6 separate regions of the Homo sapiens genome follow, and regions 1, 2, 3, 4 and 6 are each linked to region 5. The links are contacts of gene promoters, found by promoter capture Hi-C in blood cells and fetal thymus (Javierre and others, 2016). All regions are on one chromosome and are shown on one strand. The core of a region is centred on a gene start or on the middle of the fragment in contact, and the rest is flanking DNA. Distances in the headings are between cores, read along the strand shown.

Region 1 (3,016 bases), core at 49-2,548, 1.3 Mb after region 5:
GCTGTAGTCCCAGCTACTCAGGGGGCTGAGGTGGGAGGGTAGCTTAAAGCCAGAAGTTCAGAGCTCTGATTGTTCCCCTGCACTCCAGCCTGAGTGACAGAATAAAAAACCCCGTCTCTTTAAAAAAACAAAACAAACAAAAAAAACTAGAAGCAGCCAAATCTGTGGTTCTTAGTATTGTTTCTGCCTCTGCAGATACTGGGCTAACCTAAAGCTGTGGTTCAAGCAGAAGATCAGCAAAGAGGAGTTTGACCTTGAAGCTCATAGACTTCTCACACAGGATAATGGTAAAATAATTATCTGCAGAGTTATTTTACTATTCTGTAGTTTTCCTAGATTTGTAGTAAAGTCTTTTCCCTTTTTAAAAAGTAAAATTTTGGTTTTGTGGTGTATAAGGTTATCTTAATAATGTGGATACTTTAAGTATAAAGCATGGCAGAATAGGGGATATCCAAAATCTTGAGAAGCTAGACCAAAGTTGTGGTTTCCTTATGTTGAAAATGTTTTGAATTTGATTGTCACTATCTTTCCTTTTTCAGTCCATTCTCACAATGATTTCCTCCTGGCCATTCTCACGCGTTGTCAGATTTTGGTTTCTACACCAGGTAAGGGAGTGGAAATACTTCCAGTGTGTGTAAGTCAGCAAAGCACTAGACTTTAGCTTTCTCTAATAGACACAGCTAGTGTTTGTAAAGCAGATGTTTTTGAACTACTCAGAAGAAAAGTTTTATTAGGTAGATACAAATTCTTTTACAGAATCTTTTTTTTTTTTTAAAGCAGAAACTCTTTATTTTTAAGAAAAAGGTATGATTTCTCATTTTCAGTTCTTGGCATACATTTTAATTCTTTCCAGTGGAACCCAAACCTCCTGAACCCCTTTCAGTGTCATCCAAAGCTTGAATTTCTGTTTCTGGAGAAAAAGTCTGTTCACAAATGAGCTATGCAATTTGATCACCATTTTTGACACCAAACTTTTCTTTGCCAAAATTGAATTGTACAACACCAACACTTCCTCTATAATCTTCATCTTATGATGCCAGCTCCTACATCAGTAAAGTGTTTTTCAGCCAAGCCAGATGTGGCACTACTCTTTTCTAACACCCAGAAGGAAGGACTGTCTGAATGTTTGTTTTCACAAGTGCTTTCTCCCTAGGTGGTATTGTGTAATCCTAGGCATGTCCAAGTCCTAGCCCCCGTGGACCCCTTGGTCCGGGCGTGTTATGCTGGGAGAGCTGGGCAAGGCTGCTCTGTGTGCCACCCTCCCCCGCAGGCCAGTTTGCTCAATGGGGGAAATAGTGGTGTCCCTCAGAATAGGGCTTGAGAGAGCCAGAAGGCAAGCAAGGAGATAGCCCGGGAACAAGAGGGCGCAGGGTGAGCACCACAGCAGGGACTGCCCAAATCTACGGAGCCTTGTAAAGCAGGTTATGTCCCTGTACTTATATTACCTTTTGATATTGAGTCCCCACTCAGCTACATTTTAGATTACTTAAGTAAATGAGAAGTGAGGAAGAGGGTGGGAGATCAGGATGAAGAAGGTAAGGGAGATGAAGAGAGGGCAGTTGGTGTTAGGTGTCCTGTACCTAAGGGATACCTAACTTGAAAGGTGTCCGTAGTGGGGAGGTGGGGGAACCCAGCATATGTTGGGAACCTGGACTTCCACTATGTTCTTAGGTAAGATAGCACCTGAAAGGTCAAGCTTCAGCACCTGTGTTTCACAGATTATTGGTAGATAACAAGAGGTAGGGGATAGTAGCATGTTGAGGGGGTAGGTGGAAACGAAACCTGTCACTTTAACCTGAAGAGAAGATTAAGCTGTAAGTCACCTCTCTCAACCATCTTATTTTAATCAGTCAAAAACAAGTAATTAAATACATTGAAAACTTTCCTCATGATAAAAGTCATACTGGACTTTTTAAAAAAAATTAGGCCAAATGATTTATTCAGTAGTTTTTATATTTCTAAATTGCAATTTATATCTATTCATAAGACTACAAAAGTTACCATTACAATTGTGCTTACCAACTCCTGTTGTAGATTAAATTGAAATTTTTTTAAGGGCTTAGGGTGATTCTGATGATCATATATCGAAAGCTCATGTTTTATCTATAAATGGCTGGTATTTTTTAATCCTCTCTCTCTGTTTACTTCTACTGTATGATAAAGAACTCAAGCCAGGGCGTGGTGGCTCACGCCTGTATTCCCAGCACTTTGGGAGGCTGAGGCGGGCGGGTCACTTGAGGTCAGGAGTTCGAGACCAGCCCGGCCAACATGGTGAAACCCCTACTCTACTAATAATACAAAAAAGAAAATTAGCCGGGCGTGGTGGCGCACATCTGTAGTCCCAGCTACTCAGGAGGCTGAGGCATGAGAATCGCTTGAACCTGGGAGGTAGAGGTTACATTGTGCCACGGCACTTCAGCCTGGGCGACAGAGTGAAACTGTGTTTAAAAAAAAAAAAAAAAAATTCACATAAGATCTCCTAACACCTCGTTCTTTGACCCTCAAAGAAGTCGTTGTTAATGTGTAGTAAACTGTGAGCACCTGCTTGTGGGGTTGTTTTAGAGAGCAGTGACTGCCTCCCTCCCCTCACCACACTCATCACCGCACATTCTTACACTGTGTCAGATTTTTGATGTGCTATTTAATTTATATACAAGTAGACTTTAGCCATTCCTCTTTTATGTCCAAAGTTAAATCATAATCTATTTTGTTACATAAAATTTAATTTGATCAGAAAAGCCAATATTGTGAATCTTACTTTTTAGGGAAGCATATTGTAAATTGCCACATATGCCAAAGATAAATGGAGTGATCAGAAGTAAAAACCCTGGTTGATAAGAGTCAAGAGACTTAGGTTCAAGTGTAGGTTTTGCCACTAGCTTACATAATATAGTTACTTGGGCTTTCAAATTTATAAAATAAGTACAGCAATATCTACCCCGTAGGATTATGAAAAAACAGATGAAAGAACTTATAAAAAAGTGATTTTAAAAATAAAAAATGCCAGCCAGACACA
Region 2 (3,410 bases), core at 455-2,954, 1.2 Mb before region 5:
TTACAGTTTTGTTTCAGTCTTAAACATTATATTTTTACTATACAGTAAACTAGAACTCAGGAATAAGGGATGATCCTTATATCACTTCTTCATTTAGGGAGACTGTGTGACTATCCAGAGGAGAGAGAGTCCACATCTTAAATGAAGTACTCTGATGACCTTAGTCAGAAATTTTCACACTACAATCTACTTTCTTGTGTTATAGATCAAAAACCTGATGGAGCAAAAACTAGGAAGTGAAATACTATTTGCTGTAGAAAATACCTGCTTGCAAGGAATTTACTTCGCCATACATCACACTGTATTGACATACGTTCTAACTGTTCAGAAAGCTGAGCTGTGTTTCGACCTAGGGCTTCATTTTCTAAAATAAGCTGATTTTTCTCACGGGCTAGACGTTCAAAGTGATACTGAAGATCATCCCCAACAGAAGCCACCAGTAACTTTTTTAACTCACGATTTACCTAGAAGAGAACGTAATCAATACAACAAGCTCAAAGTAATATCACTAACTTTAATGTAACAAAATTAACAAAAAGAGACTGTGTTTCTGTGTAATTTTGGACCTCCGTGACTTGAAGTTTCTATCAAAAAGTAAAATTAAATATTTAAGTTCCATACGATATACAAACCATCTCTCTCTACTTCTCTCCATACATCTATATCCACAGTCCATGTGGTAATAAACTGAGCCTCTTGTAGTAAGAGTAAAAAGAATTATGAAAATAACAAATTGCTTCTAGTCAACACTTAAAGGAAAAAAAATTAAAACAAAACCAATATATTTTGATAAAAAATATGACAGAGAATGTTTTATGTTTTTTATTAAACATTTATAAGTTAGTGTATTGCATCCTAAGAATTTACTTTTAAAAAATAAAGCAAAGTAATCCAGTATGTTTCTAAGTATGTTCTTTACATCATTACTGAAAAGAGCAAAAAATTAAAAGATATCCAATAACAGTTATTGGTATATGGTATAGCTATTGAAGAACACTGTTACTATTAACAATGACACTGTAATAGAATATTCTGTGACATGGCAGAACATTAATAACTGAAAAAAGTGGGTTGTGACACTAAATGAACTCAATGTATATGGTTATGCACGTATAGCTGGATGAAATGATTCAGGTGGCACTATTTTCATTGTGTTTTTCTGTATTTTCTAAAATTTTTACACATAAATTTGTACTACATTTTGTAATGAGAAATTAGTTATTTAAAAATATATTTGTATAAAAACACTAACCATGGTCTCACTTATGAAGACTTGTATCTAGCCAAAAGATGCATGGTCTAATAGAGAAACAAGGGAAGGGGCAAGGCAATTTTTACTAAGATGCAAAGATTAAAGCAACACACTTAAGGGCTACAGATTTTTTTCATTTACAATGAAGACACAGTAAGTTATATCGCCATTCTCTTTATTCCAAGTATCCCGTATACACAAGCAAAACTACTTGGAATTTACGGATCCTTAAAACAAGGACTGCTGGTCAATTACTATGCCTGACTTGGTCAATCTTTGGTCTGGCAGTTTATAATTGTAACCTACTTTTACAACTTATTGGTGGTCTTGTCCAAAGCACCTCACACCTCCATCTTCAATGAGGTTTAGAGTATAAGTTCCCAATATAAAGTATCCCTAGAGAACTGAGAAAGAATGAGAAATTTAAGAGGAAGCATTTTAGAGAACTGACAAGCTAGGATGAATGACATTCCCATAAAGAAATGTAGTTTTCTAACATGCACGTTTAAAAGGTCCAGACGTAAAGAGTAGTACTCATTTTATCGATTAAGGCTCTTCTTACCTCTGTCTGTACACGGAGCTGGTTTGAAAGACCTTCTTTGTCCTGTAGTAACCTTCTTTCAGAATTCTTGAGCTTTTCCAATACATTCTTTACCTCTGAGAGTTCCTTATTAGGTTCTATAACTCCCTCTGACTGACCAAGGAATTCTCCTTTATGATGTCCCAGAGACTTAACCTTTGTATTTTTGTTGGGGATATCATGAGTTATAGCAGCTTTGGGAACTAATATTCTTACAGCTTTAACTTCCATTGCTTTTTCAGTGAGCATTTTCCCTAGCTGAAGAACTCCTGGGCTCTCTGATGGAACTGCTTTCTTCCATGGACTCTGAAGACTATGATGCTTTCTAGATTGGACTCCGGAGGTAACTTCAACAGATTTAGGTGGTTCCTCAGTTTCCATTCCATCTCCTGCTCCTCGGATTGGGGATGAAGTAACGGTGACTAACAAAAAGGAAACAAAACAGAAACTACTTACCAAGAAGAAATGCCAAGAAAATGCTAATACATGCTATACCCTATATTCAAAATTACTGGCACTAAAAAGAATGCAAAAAAAAAATCAGAGAAAAAGTAATTTTCAAAACAATCATGTGTCAACAAAAGATACATGTTTAAACTTTCCTTCAGTAGACAAGAGATTTGGAATCAGAATATTTGGTTCTGACTTTTACTTTCTAGTATAACCCTGGGTAAATAATTTAATCTTCCATGAATCTCTATTTCCTAATTTGCAAAACGGAGATCATAACAACTTTGCTATAGAATTTTGGTAAGAAAAAATGTAATAAGATGAAATGCTTGGCATACTGTAGACACTCAATAATGTTAGTTAAAATAAATGTCAGCTATATAGATGCATATTTGAAACCATCTACATCATAAGAGATTCATCTGTTTTGTGAACTCTTGGAGTAAGAGGAAGCAACATATATGTTACACCGAAAAATTTATTAAGAAAAGATTCAATCCTATTCTTAGGCCTAACAGTTTATGTCCTGCTTACACAAGTGAAACTACACTGGATTGTCAGATTAAACATCCTTATACCTCACTTTCACCATATCATACCCAAATTCTTTTATTGTTCTCTCATTCCCTCTAGTGGCTTTCAATTTATTTTGAGTGCACTGTATTCCCAATAAAATGCCTTGCATGTAGTGTGTGTGTATATATATATATATGTATATATGTTATAAACAATAAATGAATGATAACAAGGGGAGGGACAAAAGACGAGCACACAGATCAGTAACAATGGTTATAATGATGAACTCTGAGTGGTCACGGGCAGCAAACATGATGCTGGGTACCTAATGAAGGCTAGACATTCTATGAGGTAAGACCACTATGCTTAAGAAATTTACTACCTAATTTAGGGGACAGAACATACATATAAAAAGATAAAATGTATTACAGGATAATATATAATAAGTGTGCAGGTAAGTGGTATAAAAATATTTCAATAGAAATTTTATGTCTATAGAAACATTAAGGACAATCATGAACTACTGATTGGTCTTCAGTGAATTCATCACTGTCCAGCCAGACCATATATATATATATATATATATATATATATATATATATGTTTTATATA
Region 3 (3,036 bases), core at 354-2,853, 1.7 Mb before region 5:
TTCTAGCAGGGGAGAAATAAACCATTAAAATGTAATTTTTTTAAAAAAGTACAATGAGGTTTCTCAGGCAAATATAAAATGAACACATGTCAAAGACTCTATTTAATGTTTTTATTAATGAGGGAATCAGTAAGATTTTAAACTAGTCCAAATAGCAGCTGAGAAGATAGGTGTATATGTAGGCAATTTGATAAAGACATGTCAGGTTCAGGTTGCTGGGTTAATAACTTACAGGACAATAAACTGTAACCATTAAGATGATTTGCTGTGCTGGACAAACTTATTTACATCTCTAGTGGATGAAAATGAAAAAGTTAGCCTCTGCCCCTAAAAAGGTAATAAAGAAGTAGTAAAATAACCTAGTCAATAGGAATTTAATCCAGAATTGCATGGGAAGAAAGCCACAGTAACCTCTTTTGCCTATTTTAAAGTTTCAGATAATTGTTTTCTCTCAAAACCAAAAGCCATAATACATAAGCAAATTGTCATATTTCATCAAATATATGATGCCATCACATTTAGGAAGCATCAATATATTTGGTACCACTAAGAAAAAATTATTGACAAATTATATTATGCCATTTGTGGTAAAATGCATTCTGACCTTCAGGGATGTTAAAATGTGAAAAACTATAGTTTTTACAATCTAGAAAATACAGTATATGGCTGTTTATAAGACGGTCAGTGCTATGGAGGGAAAAAGCAAAAGAAAACAGGATAGGAAGCACCAGGAGTGTAGCAGGAAGGAAGGTAAACGTTGTAGAATTAGATAGGGTGGATCAGGACAGACTTCATTGAGAAGACGAGATCTGAACAAAAAATAGAAGTAACAGACTTAGTCAAATGGACATGTGGGAAAAGAGAATGACAGGAAAAGGAAGCGCTAGAGCAAAAGTCCTAAGGCAAGAGCTCACCTGGCATGCTGACAGGACAGCAAGGAGGCCACTGAGCATGGACCAGAGTTAGTGAGCAGGAGGATAGCAGTGAGGCCAAAGGAGGGAGGCCTTAGATCATTTAGGGCAGTTCTCAAACCTTCCTGCAAGGAAGGTGCCTGCAAATCACCTAAAGATCCTGTTAAAATGTAGATTCTGACTCGACAATCTAGCGTGAGGCCTCAGCTTTTGCATTTTTAACATGCTTCCAGAGGATGCTCATGTTGCCTTCAAATATTAATTAACCACCCCTACAGGATAGATCTAAGTTAGTACACATCTGTATCTCCCTGAAGGCTGAAGTATTTCAAAGAAGAGGTAGATATATAATGCACACATTGTTTGCCCCAAATCTTTCTCCCAGGAGTATGATTCCAAGATGATTCATGGCTCTTTGAAGTTGAGAAGCAATTCACACTTCAGAGGCTTTTAGCATCTGAAAGATTTCAATGAGAAGTCTATACTCCTGGGGCAGATACTACAAACACTTCAGCTATCTCTAACTCAGATCAATACTAGTGGCTTTAAGGATGTTTAAAAGTGAATTTTCATGGCCAAAATAAGTAATTTCAAGATGGACAGAATGAATAGAAATGTTGCCATGCCTTACATGATCAGAGTATGAGAATCTAGTGAGTCTAGCAATCTACACACTTTGGAAAGGTGCCCTAGATTTAGGATTTCAGACCAGCCCCATATGGAGAAGATTACAAGAAGATTTTGTCACCCAGCTCTAATGAGGATAGCTGAGTCTGCTATTAGAATACTGTCCCATCTTCCTGCAGTGGATGGACCTTTCATGCAAGATGCTATTCAAGCTCCTACACAAGGAAGTGGAACCTCACTGAGTTTGTATAACAGCTCTACTGCCTGTCTTTAAACCTTGCTAATAAACGTGTGAATGTGTAGAATCCCACCTCAGACTTGCTTTCATTCTCTCTTTGTAGTGGTAGCAAGGTTATGGTGGAACTTAGAAAACACATACTTCTCATTAGAGAAATCTTCCAATATCTATGCAAAGTTCCTAAAAACAACGAGAGAACAAAGTGGCTTAGGTCCAGTTCAGTTTTCTATAAGGTATCCACTACTTATGGATGCTATATGTATTTATCTGAAATGTGCCTGAAGGAGGGTTTGTCATTCATGCAAGTTTCCCCCTTTACACTTCCAGATTCTAATTGCAATTATGCAATTACACAAATTATTGAGGTAGAACATTAAATAGAAATCACTTGAATAACTTTTACTCTCTTTGGTTTTCAGGTAGAGCTTGTAAAAAAGTTAGTTCAAATCAAGTTGGAAAAAAATAATTAAGTTGGATGGCTAAGGCTTTTATAGAACCAGGAATATATCCAAGATACTTATAGTCTACTTGGGAATCTAAGTTAGAAACATGAAAAAGATTAATTAAAAAAACACCTAAAAGTCAAGCTGAATACCATTGACATGTTTTGATTTGAATTAAGAAGAGGATTGGTTGGAAGTAAAATTCAGGTTGATCCTTAAACAGTATGACAAGAAAAAATTATTTCTATTAAGAAAACAAACTATTTGTTTCTAACTGTCCCACCAGCCACATTCCAAGGACAGCGGATTCAGGTTGTTGGAGATTCTTTTCTTTCCTGGCCTTAGACATATTTAAAATGAGGACTGAGGAATCAGTGAGGGAATACAAGATTTCTATGCATAAGAAAGGCAGAAGGAGCTCAGAGAGCAGCTCCAGGGAACTGAGAACTGGAACCAGAGCTATAGAGGGCTCTGTGGGGTAAGGGCTGGGAGGCAGAGAGATGTAGGGAGGGTGCCTGGGACATGCAGTGTGCTCTCAGTAAATTCATTTGTGTGTTTAATATTTACTGAGTACCTAGTATGTTCTAGGCACTGTGTTATGTGCTAGAAATATGGCAGGAAAGAAAGAAATGAAGGAAGGAAGCCCTGTTTTCAGGGAGCTGATGTTCTAGCTGTGGGACAGAGATGCTGAACAAATATGTGCATTGGTGTTAAGCAAAATAAGGCAAAGTCAAAAGACAGGAAGAGGCAGGTAAGGTGCTGTTTTAGACAGTGTTTTCAGGGGAGCTGTCTCTGATAAATTGCATTCAAGTAGAAT
Region 4 (3,215 bases), core at 481-2,980, 1.2 Mb before region 5:
ATGGAGGTTGTTTGCTCTGTTGGTGAGGCTTCCTGACCACTGCAGTTTATCTAATCAGCTTCTGTCTTCATCTAGTTTGTTATAGTTGAGGCTTCCAAATTCTGGAATCACCTTTATATTGTGAAGCAGAGATAGGGAACCATAGTTTAGCATGTTTCTCATACACCTCATTTAAGATGAAGCGTATGCTGGACTCATCAATTTCTTTTACATATTATAAAGAGGACAGAGAAGGTAATTCTAAGATATATTTGACAAAGATATTAATATTATGTATCTTCTAAAATATAGCATTTATTAGAATATCATTACTCCAGATGAACTGTTAGTGTAATAAAGGACTTTAAAGATTATTAGCTATGTTCCATAAGAACTAATCTAAACCTTTGAAGTAAAATGTCTCAAAGTTGTTTGTTTGTTTATGTATTTATTTATTTTTGAGACACAGTCTCACTCTATCACCCTGGCTGGAGTGCAGTGGTGTGATCTCGGGTCACTGCAACCTCTGCCTCCTGGGTTCAAGCGATTCTCCTGCCTCCACCTTGTGAGTAACTTGGATTACAGGCATGTGCCACCATGCCTGGCTAATTTTTGTGTTTTTAGTGGAGACAGGGTTTCACCATGTTGGCCAGGCTGGTCTCGAGCTCCTGACCTCAAGTGATCCACTTGCCTCGGCTTCCCCAAGTGCTGGGATTACAGGCATGAGTCAAAGTTGTTTTTAACAGAGTTTTCAAAGACAGTTTCATAATTACTGAAGAACAAAATTTTATTCCATGAAATGAAATGCTTTTCAGTTTCCAACTTTATGACGTTTCTCCTAATAGCTTTTCTGGTTTTGTTTTTAGCACCTGCCTTTTTTTTTTTTTAGACAGAGTTTTGTTCTGTCGACCCGGCTGTGGAGTGCAGTGGCGCGATTTCCACTCACTGCAACCTCTGCCTCCTGGGTTCAAGCAATTCTTGTGCCCCAGCCTCCCGAGTAGCTGGGACTACTGGCGCATGCCACCACGCCTGGCTAACTTTTGTATTTTTAGTAGAGACGGGGTTTCGCCATTTTGGCCAGGCTAGTCTCAAACTCCTGATCTCAGGTCATCCGCCTGCCTCGGCCTTCCAAACTGCTGGGATTATAGGCATGAAGCTTGGCACCCAGACAGCATCTGCTTTTTAGTCATCCAGAATTCCTTTTGTTACTTGAATTGCTGATTTGGAAGAATTGCAGTTCCAAAGATCCACAGGATTTTATTTACAAAAAGTGAATCAGAAAGCACAGGGCATAAATTGCAGATATGAAACTCTTAAAAGTTTATTTTCCTATATATTGTATTACAAATGCAGTTTAGAGCCTGTTATATTCTTGTTTAGTAGGAAACAGTGGTATTTGGAGAACGGAATAGTAAGTGGTTAATATAATGCCATAATTTTTTTCATGTAGCTTTTTATTTATTTTTGCTTTCCTTTTTCTGCCTTTTTATTCCCAATTCTTTCTCATTCACCAGTTATTCTTCTATTCGAGAAAGTATTTATTGAGTACTTTCCATATACTGGTAACTGGTGGGTATACATTGATTAATAAGATAGCACACAGTGGCCCCTAACTCATGGAATTTATGGAGAAAAACAGATATTGGAAAATAAATTACAAGTATAAGTTGGATTACAAAAGAAAAATGACAAGGTGAGGTGGAAGTTAGTAATAAAATAGAGTGATCTGAACTAGCCTGGGGTGGTGAGGGAAAGTCTCTTTGATGATAAAACTCTTTAATTGTTTTTTTCCTTAGTTTGAGAGAAAAACAGTTTACATGAATAAATAAACGAATGATGACCTCATATGATGATAAGTACTATGAGGAAAATTAAACTAAGTAATGCAATATTGGTTGGTTCCAAGAGCAAGTAGCCTTGAGTAGGACAATCAGGGACGGTCCTCATGAGGATGTGACTTTTAAGCTGAGATGTCAATGATAGAAAGCAGCTTGCCAGGTGAAACCTAGGAGAAGAGCATTCCAGGCAGAGTCAATAGTGAGCACAGAGGTGCATTAGAGGAACAGGAGGGAGATAGTGTGGCTGGGGCCTAGGGAATGAGAGGACAGCTGGAGGAGAAGAGATCTGAGAGGCAGGAAGGAGCCAGGAATACTGAGACTTATGGAACTTGGGAGGGATTTTGGATTTTATTCTAAATGCAGTAGTATTATACATCTTATATATTTTACCTATTCCATCAAAATATTTTATTTTCCTTGGATTTGCCTTAAACTTTTGCCATATTAATTTGGTCTCTTGGTGCTTATTTTTATCTTATCTGTAAAATTTATGATCTTATAAGCTTTGGGAAATATTTTTCTGAGCTTCTTTTGTCTTTGAACTTCAGAGACTCCTAATTTCATCCCTTATAGTTGCCATTTCATAATTTATTTTCCCATTTCTGGACTTATTTTTTGTTTCTATAATATCTACTCTAAGGTGTGGCGAGCAGAGCTACATATTCCAGATGGGTATGCATTATAGTTTCAACATGGGAGTTATGTTTGCTGCTGTGATCTTCACCTAGTACCTTTCTTGATGCTGCTATAGCATATGATTGAAGTATCTTACTTTCCAGAAGTATCTCCAGCATTCCCAATGAACTTTGTATTCACATTTTTTTCAAAAACTGCCTAAACTTCTTCACTTCCAAAGTTGTCAATATTTAAAACTTTCTGTTAATTAGATGTGAGAAACTGTAGCTATTAAAATGTACTGCTTAATTCACATTTATTTTCTGATACTGGACACTTTGCCTTAATAAGTTGCTGTTGTTCTCTCTCCTGACTCATCTTATGTGCTGTGCCTTCTTCATATTTCTATACTCTTTAAAATGTATCTTCATATGCACACATAATGGCTCTAGAGCTCTCTGATAGATGTAAATTCAACTTTTATCCTTTGTTTTCCATAGTTTCAATATTTACATGATACATATATATGCTATATATGTTTTATATATGTTTATAAAGATATTTAACTTATTCTGTTGTAGAAATATAGGAAAATTACTTAGTCATTTTTAGAAATGAGAAAATATAAAAGTAAAAGTAATAAAATTACATTTATCTATAATAACACTGCCTGTATACAATCGCTATTAATATTTTTGTGTAATATCCTGGTCACATATATACTCATACATATATACACACACACACAGAGATACATATCCTTTAAAATATGATTCTATTATA
Region 5 (3,168 bases), core at 15-2,514:
CATCAGCTGGCCATCCCAGGGACTTAATCTTCTAAAACCTATCTTTTCTCTTACTAACTGGTCTCCTTCCCATCCCTGCGGACCTGCAATCCAGCCTCAACATGGCCTCCAGAGAAATCTTTCAGAGCGTACATCTGATAATGCAGCTCCTTTGGATAAAATTACACCCAGTGGTTGTCAGATAAAATTGAAAACTCCTTAGCCAGGCATAAAAATTCCCTCAGTATCTTGATTCCCCTGGGGCCTACCTCTCATCTCTCACAACACCCCCTATGGTACCTCACGCTCCAATCACACGGACACAGCTCTTTAAACACATCACAGCTTTCACTCTCCCTGAGCCCCCAGCTTTACATGCGTCCCCTGATTCCCCTAAATTTTGTCAAGATTCAGCCCAGGCATCAAAAACGCATCACAACTCACTCTGCCTGACCTGATGGCATGTACCTATCCACCGCCCCCCGCAACGGTTTTATAAAGATTCAGTTCAGGCATCCCAATTTCCCAGATGGTTCGAGCCCCTAAAAGACCTCACATCACTCCGTGTATACATCTTCATTACATTTATTCACGCTGTAATATAATTGTCTGTCTCTCTCACGAGACTGTGAATTGAGGCGCACGTTGTCTTTTACATTTCCTATCTCAAGCGCCGGGCACAGCACCTGACGTGACAGAAACCAAACTTATAAATCATCCCCGTCATTAACCCCTAAGAAAACAGGCAACAGCCACCCAGAAAGAAAGGTGGTGCAGGCTGAGGCAGGAGGAGACGTTTGGTGAGGGGAAAGTCCACCAGAACAGTCACACTCTACTCAAACCCAGGCGGATTGACAGTTGACGAAAGCAGCGCCTGGCGATCCCCAACCAAAGGGCCCGGAAGTGTGACTGGATTATTTATCGAAGTTGTCAATCAAAGGTCCGGTCCGGAGGGACCGAACCTCCGCCTCAGGGAAAAGGGGAGGGGCTGCACAGAGTTCGCCCTGCCTCCCGCCCTGGGCCAGCAACCGGCCAGCGCCCAGACCCCGTGCCCCGAAGCCTCACTTCTCCACATCCGCCGACTTCATGATGTGGGTCTTGGACGCCGTCAGCTTCCAGGGCCCGAAGCAGAAATCCCGGTGGCTGCTCTGGAAGCCGTGGATCATCATGGCTGAGGCAGGACCCGCAGAGGCCACAAGGAATAAGCTGAAGCAGCGGCGGCGGCGAACACCGGTTCCTCCGCCTCCCTCCGGCCCAGCCTCCTAGGCTTCCGAGCCGTTACCATGCCCGGCCCCGCCCCCTGCCGGCCGACCCGGACGCGGGCTCTGCTTCCCGTCTTCTTCTCCGCCTCTTTGCTTTTTGCTTCCGGGACTAGTTGCTCTTGTTGCGTGACCCACGTCTTACGTTCCGGCGTTCCGGAAAAAAGGAAAAAGGAGAAAGTCAGAGGGGCGGCACTTGGGTTGCAGAAGGTGTGGTTAGGAACGCACCGCCCTCTTGAACTCGTTGGGTGACGTCATCTCGAAGGATTTTAGGGACTGCCAGGGAAGGGGATGACGGTTCCAACTTGATCCTTACAGACCTCAAAGCAGTGTGATTACCTCATGTGTTAGTGAATCGTGTTACAGAGGAAATTTTTCTGTTTTGAGGTCAAAAAAAGAAGTAATCCCACAGAGTTTAGGAAATCCAGCACCAACAAGATTTAGAAGTGGCCATCTAGCCACTCTTGACTATGACCAACTCCTATCAAAAATTGCATCCTCGTAGATATGCGAAGACTTTCCATGGTCTAGTTGCTATGTAGGCACCCAGTATAGTGAAAACAACACAGCTGACTTAGTGCTAAATCTCCATTTGCAACACTATTGTGTGAATCCTTGGGCAAAGCGCTTCTCTAACGATTTTAGGCTTCAGTTGCCTCAAAATGAGATGATTTTGTTAATGGAAAAAAAACAAATTCTGTAAAAGGTTTTAAAGAGATTTATTCTGAACCAATATGAGTGACCATGGCCCAGGGAATAGTCCCAAGAGGTCCTAACAAAGAGCATCTGAAGCGGTGGCATTACTCTTTGTTTTATACATTTTAGGGAGTTGGGAATTGCAGGTAAAATAAGTCAATATATGGAAGATATACATTGGTTCAGGCTAAGGAAGTGGGATGTCTTGAAGGAGAGGCTTACAGATCATAGGTGGATTCAAAGATTTTCTGATCGGCAATCTGTTGAAAGATTTAAGCTTTAGTCAGGCGAGGTGGCTCCTGCCTATAATCCCAGCATCTTGGGAGGCCTAGGTGAGAGGATTGCTTGAGTCCAGGAATTTGAGACCAGCGTGGGCACCAGAGTAAGCCCTCATCTCTACAAACCGTGTTAATTAGCTGTGTATGATGGTATCTGCCTGTAGTCCCAGGCCACTTGAGAGGCTGTGGTGGGAGGATCTCTTGAGCCTCAGAGGCTGCATTGAGCCATGATCATGCCACAGCACTCATGCCTGGGTGAGCGAGACCCTGTCTCAAAAACAAATAAAAACACAGGCCAGGTGCAGTGGCTCAAGACTGTAATCCCAGCACTTTGGGAGGCCAAGGTGGGTGGACCACCTGAGGTCGGGAGTTCAAGACCAGCCTGGCCAATATTGTGAAAACCTGTGTCTACTAAAAATACAAAACTTAGCCAAGCACGGTGGTGGATGCCTGTAACCCCAGCTACTAGGGAGGCTGAGGTGGGAGAATCACTTGAACCTGAGAGGCAGAGGTTGCAGTGAGCCGAGATCGTGCCACTGCACTCCAGCCTGGGTGACAGAGTAAGACCTTGTCTCAAAAACAAACAAACAAACAAACAAAAAACAGTGTTAAGCTTTGTCTAAAGACTTGAAGTCAGTAGAAAGGAATGCTTAAGAAAAGGGAGTCTGCTATCTGTCATGTGATTCTACACCAGTCAGGTTGGAAAGTAAGGCACATTATACCATTGCACATAAAAAACCATTTAACGACATTTTATGGTTTGTAGGGCATGACTTAATCCTTGCCTTGCATGGCCATAGTTTTTTTGTTTTGTTTTGTTTTGTTTTGTTTTGAGACAGAGTCTTGCTCTGTCGCCCAGGCTGGAGTGCAGAGGCCCCATCTCGGTTCACTGCAACTTCCACCTCCTAGGTTCAAGCGATTCTCCTGCCTCAGCCTCCCAAGTAGCTGGGATTTCA
Region 6 (3,509 bases), core at 347-2,846, 1.3 Mb before region 5:
GGTTGGAGTTTAGGGGACTAGACAATTGAATAATATCGATTAGCAGTCCTCAAACATTTTGGTCTTAGGACCCTTGTTAGAGGTGCCCCAAAAATCTGTTGGGTTTTGTGGGTTATACTTATTGAAAATTGCCATATGGTAATAAATTAAACCTGGAAAGTCTTACAAACACAAGAATATACAAGCACGTATTCTCTCATCCTATAAAGCGATGATGTCATCAGACATTATATAGCCTCTGGAGTGGAAAAGGAAATAAAGACTTAGCATGGTTATGAAAATAGATTTGAGCTCGTGGAACCTCTGAAAGGGTCCCAAGGACCCCCAGGGCTTCCTCGACCACACTTTGAGACTCATTGAGATATGTAAATACTGCCAGTTGTATTTCTTCACAGATTAATCAACTCACAGATTTGGGTGCATTCATTTGTGCAGTCTTAGAAACAAATCTTTCCCTTTACCAGTATCTTATTCCATCTGGTAGACTCATTTCTGCTGCTGATGCTTGAAAAAAGTGTCATTTGCTACCACAGGAGGAAAACGGTGCTAGATGGATCATAACATACAGAAAAGCAAGATAGTTCCAAAATGTTTCCAAGAGCTTCTGGCAGGATCTGTCATTCTACAAATACTGCACAGGAAAAATTGCTTTAAATGCTGCATCTTTGCAGTAGAAAGATTAGGATTGAGCCAGGCTGTGAGTCAGGCAGAAAAAGGCACACAGAGGGGGATGAAAGAAAGCACTGGAGAGTCTTGTCATGCTTTGCCCTTGAAAACTATGCCAAGACCTCTTTTGTGTTTTTAAATGAAGAAATCCATCATGTTTTGTGATTGCTGTAATGACTCAGGATCTTCCACCTTCCTTTTAACTATAAACCGTAGCGTAGTTAGGTGTTTGTTTTCTTTGTATCATGCTTGCAAAAAGTGACGAAATAAAGTTAAAACCCTTTAACTGGGACTCCATTACGGTTCTGCTGTTCAGTGACCAGCTTGTTCATTATTCTCACAATATTATCTACTTTCTTCATTTCAGTCTGTCTCTTAGATCCTGGGCTTCTGATGTCTTTCCATGGCGGATGAATACAATTTAAAACACGAAAGCTGCTGGAGGAAAGGTTTAACGTTCCCCCTCCCCAAGGTGAAATCTTTGCCTGGCCTCAGTCACTAAGTCTCTCAGGAGCGGAAACTGAATGGACATTCCGGAGACGGTGAATAAGAATGATAAACGGTGGTTGGGGAGAACAGCGCGTTTCTTCCAGCGGAGGACTAGGCCCACAGGACGCATTCCCAACAGATGAGCGGAGCCGACAGCAAGTGTGCCACGAACGCCAGCTGGCCGCCTCACTAGAGAGAGCTCCGCCGCAAGCCGCCGCTTTTGGAGTGGAGTTCCACATGTCCTCCGCGCTTGAGCCCTGGGACGTCAGAGGCCTGGCGTGCTGCCACCGCCCCAGTTCACGTCGTGTGACCCACGACCAATGGAAGAGCAGGCAAGTATTCCCGGCGTCCGCTGTGATTGGTTCCCGGAGTGGAGGCGGTGGCAGAGGGTGGGCCTTAGGACGGGTCTCCCTTAAACTGGGCGATCAGGCAGCGACCCTAGAGGCGTCTGTAGGGTAAAGCTGGGGGTTCTGTAGCCGGAGGCGGCGGCGAGTCCAGAACGTCCTGGCCTTACAGGGAGAAGGCGTCACTCGCGGTTACAAGTGCCTGACCCTCACTCCAGTTGGCGGAGGAGGAGAAGGAAGGGGCCGGGCCGGGTCCCCTCCCCTCGCGCCCCGGATGGATGTGCCCGGCCCGGTGTCTCGGCGGGCGGCGGCGGCGGCGGCCACTGTGCTCCTGCGGACCGCTCGGGTCCGTCGCGAATGCTGGTTCTTGCCGACCGCGCTGCTCTGCGCCTACGGCTTCTTCGCCAGCCTCAGGCCGTCCGAGCCCTTCCTGACCCCGTACCTGCTGGGGCCGGACAAGAACCTGACCGAGAGGGAGGTACGCGCGGCGGACGCGGGGCGCGGGAAGGGCGGGCGACCGGCCTGCGGGTGGGCAGCGGAGGAAGAGAGGACCGAGAAAAGCGCTCGAGCCATTCTCGGCAGAGATTTCTGATTTTGCCAGTTGGAGGTCGGCTTCGTGCTCTTCTTTGTGTTCATGATTTTCTGTTTTCTTCGGCTCTGTAGGACGAGTCTCCTGCGAAGGGCTCAGAACACGCGTCCAGAGGCCCCGTGCCTTGTGCGTCAGGCAGTATGCTGATCGTGTTGTAATGTGGCTTAGCGTGACTGCCCAGACTGGTCCAGCAGTTCCTGCTGGGGGCGAGGGGGCAATATTTTGACAAAGAAGTGAAAACAGCAAAGTGTACTTTGGACACGGCTTAGTAAATATTCATTGACTGAAAGTAGGCAACCACTGCTTTTCTGAAAGGATCTTCCCTCTACCTCCTTCACCTGCTTCCTGTCCATACCTTACTTTGTTTGCATTTGGCAGAATGGGTGGGCTTAATCAAGTAAGGACAGGACAGAAGTACAGAACATCTTAATTTGTCTTGATTTTTAATTGGGTGAGGTTGTGTCCAAGGATATCCTGCCCCTCTCTACCTTAAGACCAACCTCCAGGGATAAAGGCAGATGGTGAAACATAATTGACTTTTAATTATAGTGTTTCTTGTATTGCGAATTGTTGCTTCACAGATGTTAGTTTTGCTTCTCAGATACAAGGTGATGTCTTTGAAGGCCTTCTGTGATGTTCAGGGTAATTGAGAGCACGTAGTCCATCATCAAGAGTTTCTTGCTGATTGATTTTTTCCCTAGATGAGGGCTTACAAATAAAGTACTTCAGAAGCGCATAGTGTACTTTAGAAATGTGCTGACCTATTTAAGTGCATGGTCAAAACCAGCACTTGATTTTTGCAGAAGAAAGACAATATATAAACTGAGAAAGAAATTAAACCCAAAGTACTTCCACAAAACCGAAATAAAGCCGATTCAACACCCTCTTCCTTGAATACAACAAAGGGTGAAAGCTGAGGTCTCATGTTCTTTTTCCTACTATCAGTCAAGGGGCCACTTGAGAGCTTTTTCTTTTTTCCTACACCTGTTCCTTCCACCCTGCCTCCTTGCCCCAGGTGCTGTAAAATACTCCTCCCATTTAAACCTTACTCTTCTCTATGTGGGTAGTAGTCAGTCACTTCTTTTGAGTAGCCACTCAGTAACCCTGCATAACAGGTCAGAACAAGAGATGGCACTACCGGAATCATTTGCACACTGGCGAGATATAGTTACTCATAGTTTGTTGTTTGCAGTTTGTTTGTTGCAATGCTCCGTCATTTTCAAGGGCACTTGAGAGAGAATTAAGAATCAGTATTGACTTACGTATTGAGGGTTTCACTTGAGAGTCTGACATTTGTTCACTTCTAGCAAGTATCACTGACTTTTTGCCTGGCCTTAAATTACCCTATTGACCTGCCAGTTGTGGGATGGAGTGGCTGGGCCGTTTCTCAGTCTTGTGGATCATTACATAAGCGACCGTAA

The links. Contacts are between HindIII fragments. The CHiCAGO score rates a contact against its expected background, and 5 or more counts as called.
Region 1: a fragment that was not itself captured here is called in contact with the fragment with the promoter of TIPRL in region 5 in 1 of 17 cell types (naive B cells); the score reaches 5.0 in naive B cells.
Region 2: a fragment that was not itself captured here is called in contact with the fragment with the promoter of TIPRL in region 5 in 3 of 17 cell types (total CD8 T cells, neutrophils and non-activated CD4 T cells); the score reaches 7.2 in total CD8 T cells.
Region 3: a contact is called between a fragment that was not itself captured here and the fragment with the promoter of TIPRL in region 5, in 1 of 17 cell types (activated CD4 T cells). The highest score is 6.5, in activated CD4 T cells.
Region 4: a fragment that was not itself captured here is called in contact with the fragment with the promoter of TIPRL in region 5 in 4 of 17 cell types (total CD8 T cells, naive CD8 T cells, activated CD4 T cells and 1 more); the score reaches 9.3 in total CD8 T cells.
Region 6: the fragment with the promoter of SLC19A2 here is called in contact with the fragment with the promoter of TIPRL in region 5 in 2 of 17 cell types (total CD8 T cells and naive CD8 T cells); the score reaches 5.4 in total CD8 T cells.

Annotation. Positions count from the first base shown.
Region 1 is chr1:166,867,034-166,870,049 of GRCh38, reverse strand. TADA1 (transcriptional adaptor 1) reads left to right here. Exons shown (of 8, transcript NM_053053.4): 2 at 196-287; 3 at 540-605. It also overlaps the pseudogene DUTP6. Among named protein-coding and RNA genes, the nearest start is that of TADA1, 7.7 kb to the left of the region's middle. The HindIII fragment of the contact is 801 bases long and covers 898-1,698 here.
Region 2 is chr1:169,375,384-169,378,793 of GRCh38, reverse strand. BLZF1 (basic leucine zipper nuclear factor 1) reads right to left here. Exons shown (of 7, transcript NM_001320973.2): 3 at 1,815-2,254; 4 at 265-464. Among named protein-coding and RNA genes, the nearest start is that of BLZF1, 8.9 kb to the right of the region's middle. The HindIII fragment of the contact is 3,684 bases long and covers 1-3,410 here.
Region 3 is chr1:169,897,971-169,901,006 of GRCh38, reverse strand. No RefSeq gene overlaps it. Among named protein-coding and RNA genes, the nearest start is that of SCYL3, 5.6 kb to the right of the region's middle. The HindIII fragment of the contact is 5,358 bases long and covers 1-3,036 here.
Region 4 is chr1:169,359,432-169,362,646 of GRCh38, reverse strand. All of the region lies in intron 1 of NME7 (NME/NM23 family member 7), which reads left to right. Among named protein-coding and RNA genes, the nearest start is that of NME7, 6.8 kb to the left of the region's middle. The HindIII fragment of the contact is 1,185 bases long and covers 1,138-2,322 here.
Region 5 is chr1:168,177,058-168,180,225 of GRCh38, reverse strand. TIPRL (TOR signaling pathway regulator) reads right to left here and starts at 1,264. Exons shown (of 7, transcript NM_152902.5): 1 at 1,045-1,264. The coding sequence starts at 1,148. RefSeq lists enhancers at 1,033-1,152, 1,140-1,641. The HindIII fragment of the contact is 4,299 bases long and covers 1-2,213 here.
Region 6 is chr1:169,484,031-169,487,539 of GRCh38, reverse strand. It overlaps SLC19A2 (solute carrier family 19 member 2), which reads left to right and starts at 1,596. Exons shown (of 6, transcript NM_006996.3): 1 at 1,596-1,977. The coding sequence starts at 1,774. RefSeq lists enhancers at 1,162-1,231, 539-1,459, 1,242-1,491, 1,295-1,589, 2,132-2,191 and a silencer at 1,772-1,951. The HindIII fragment of the contact is 10,248 bases long and covers 1-3,509 here.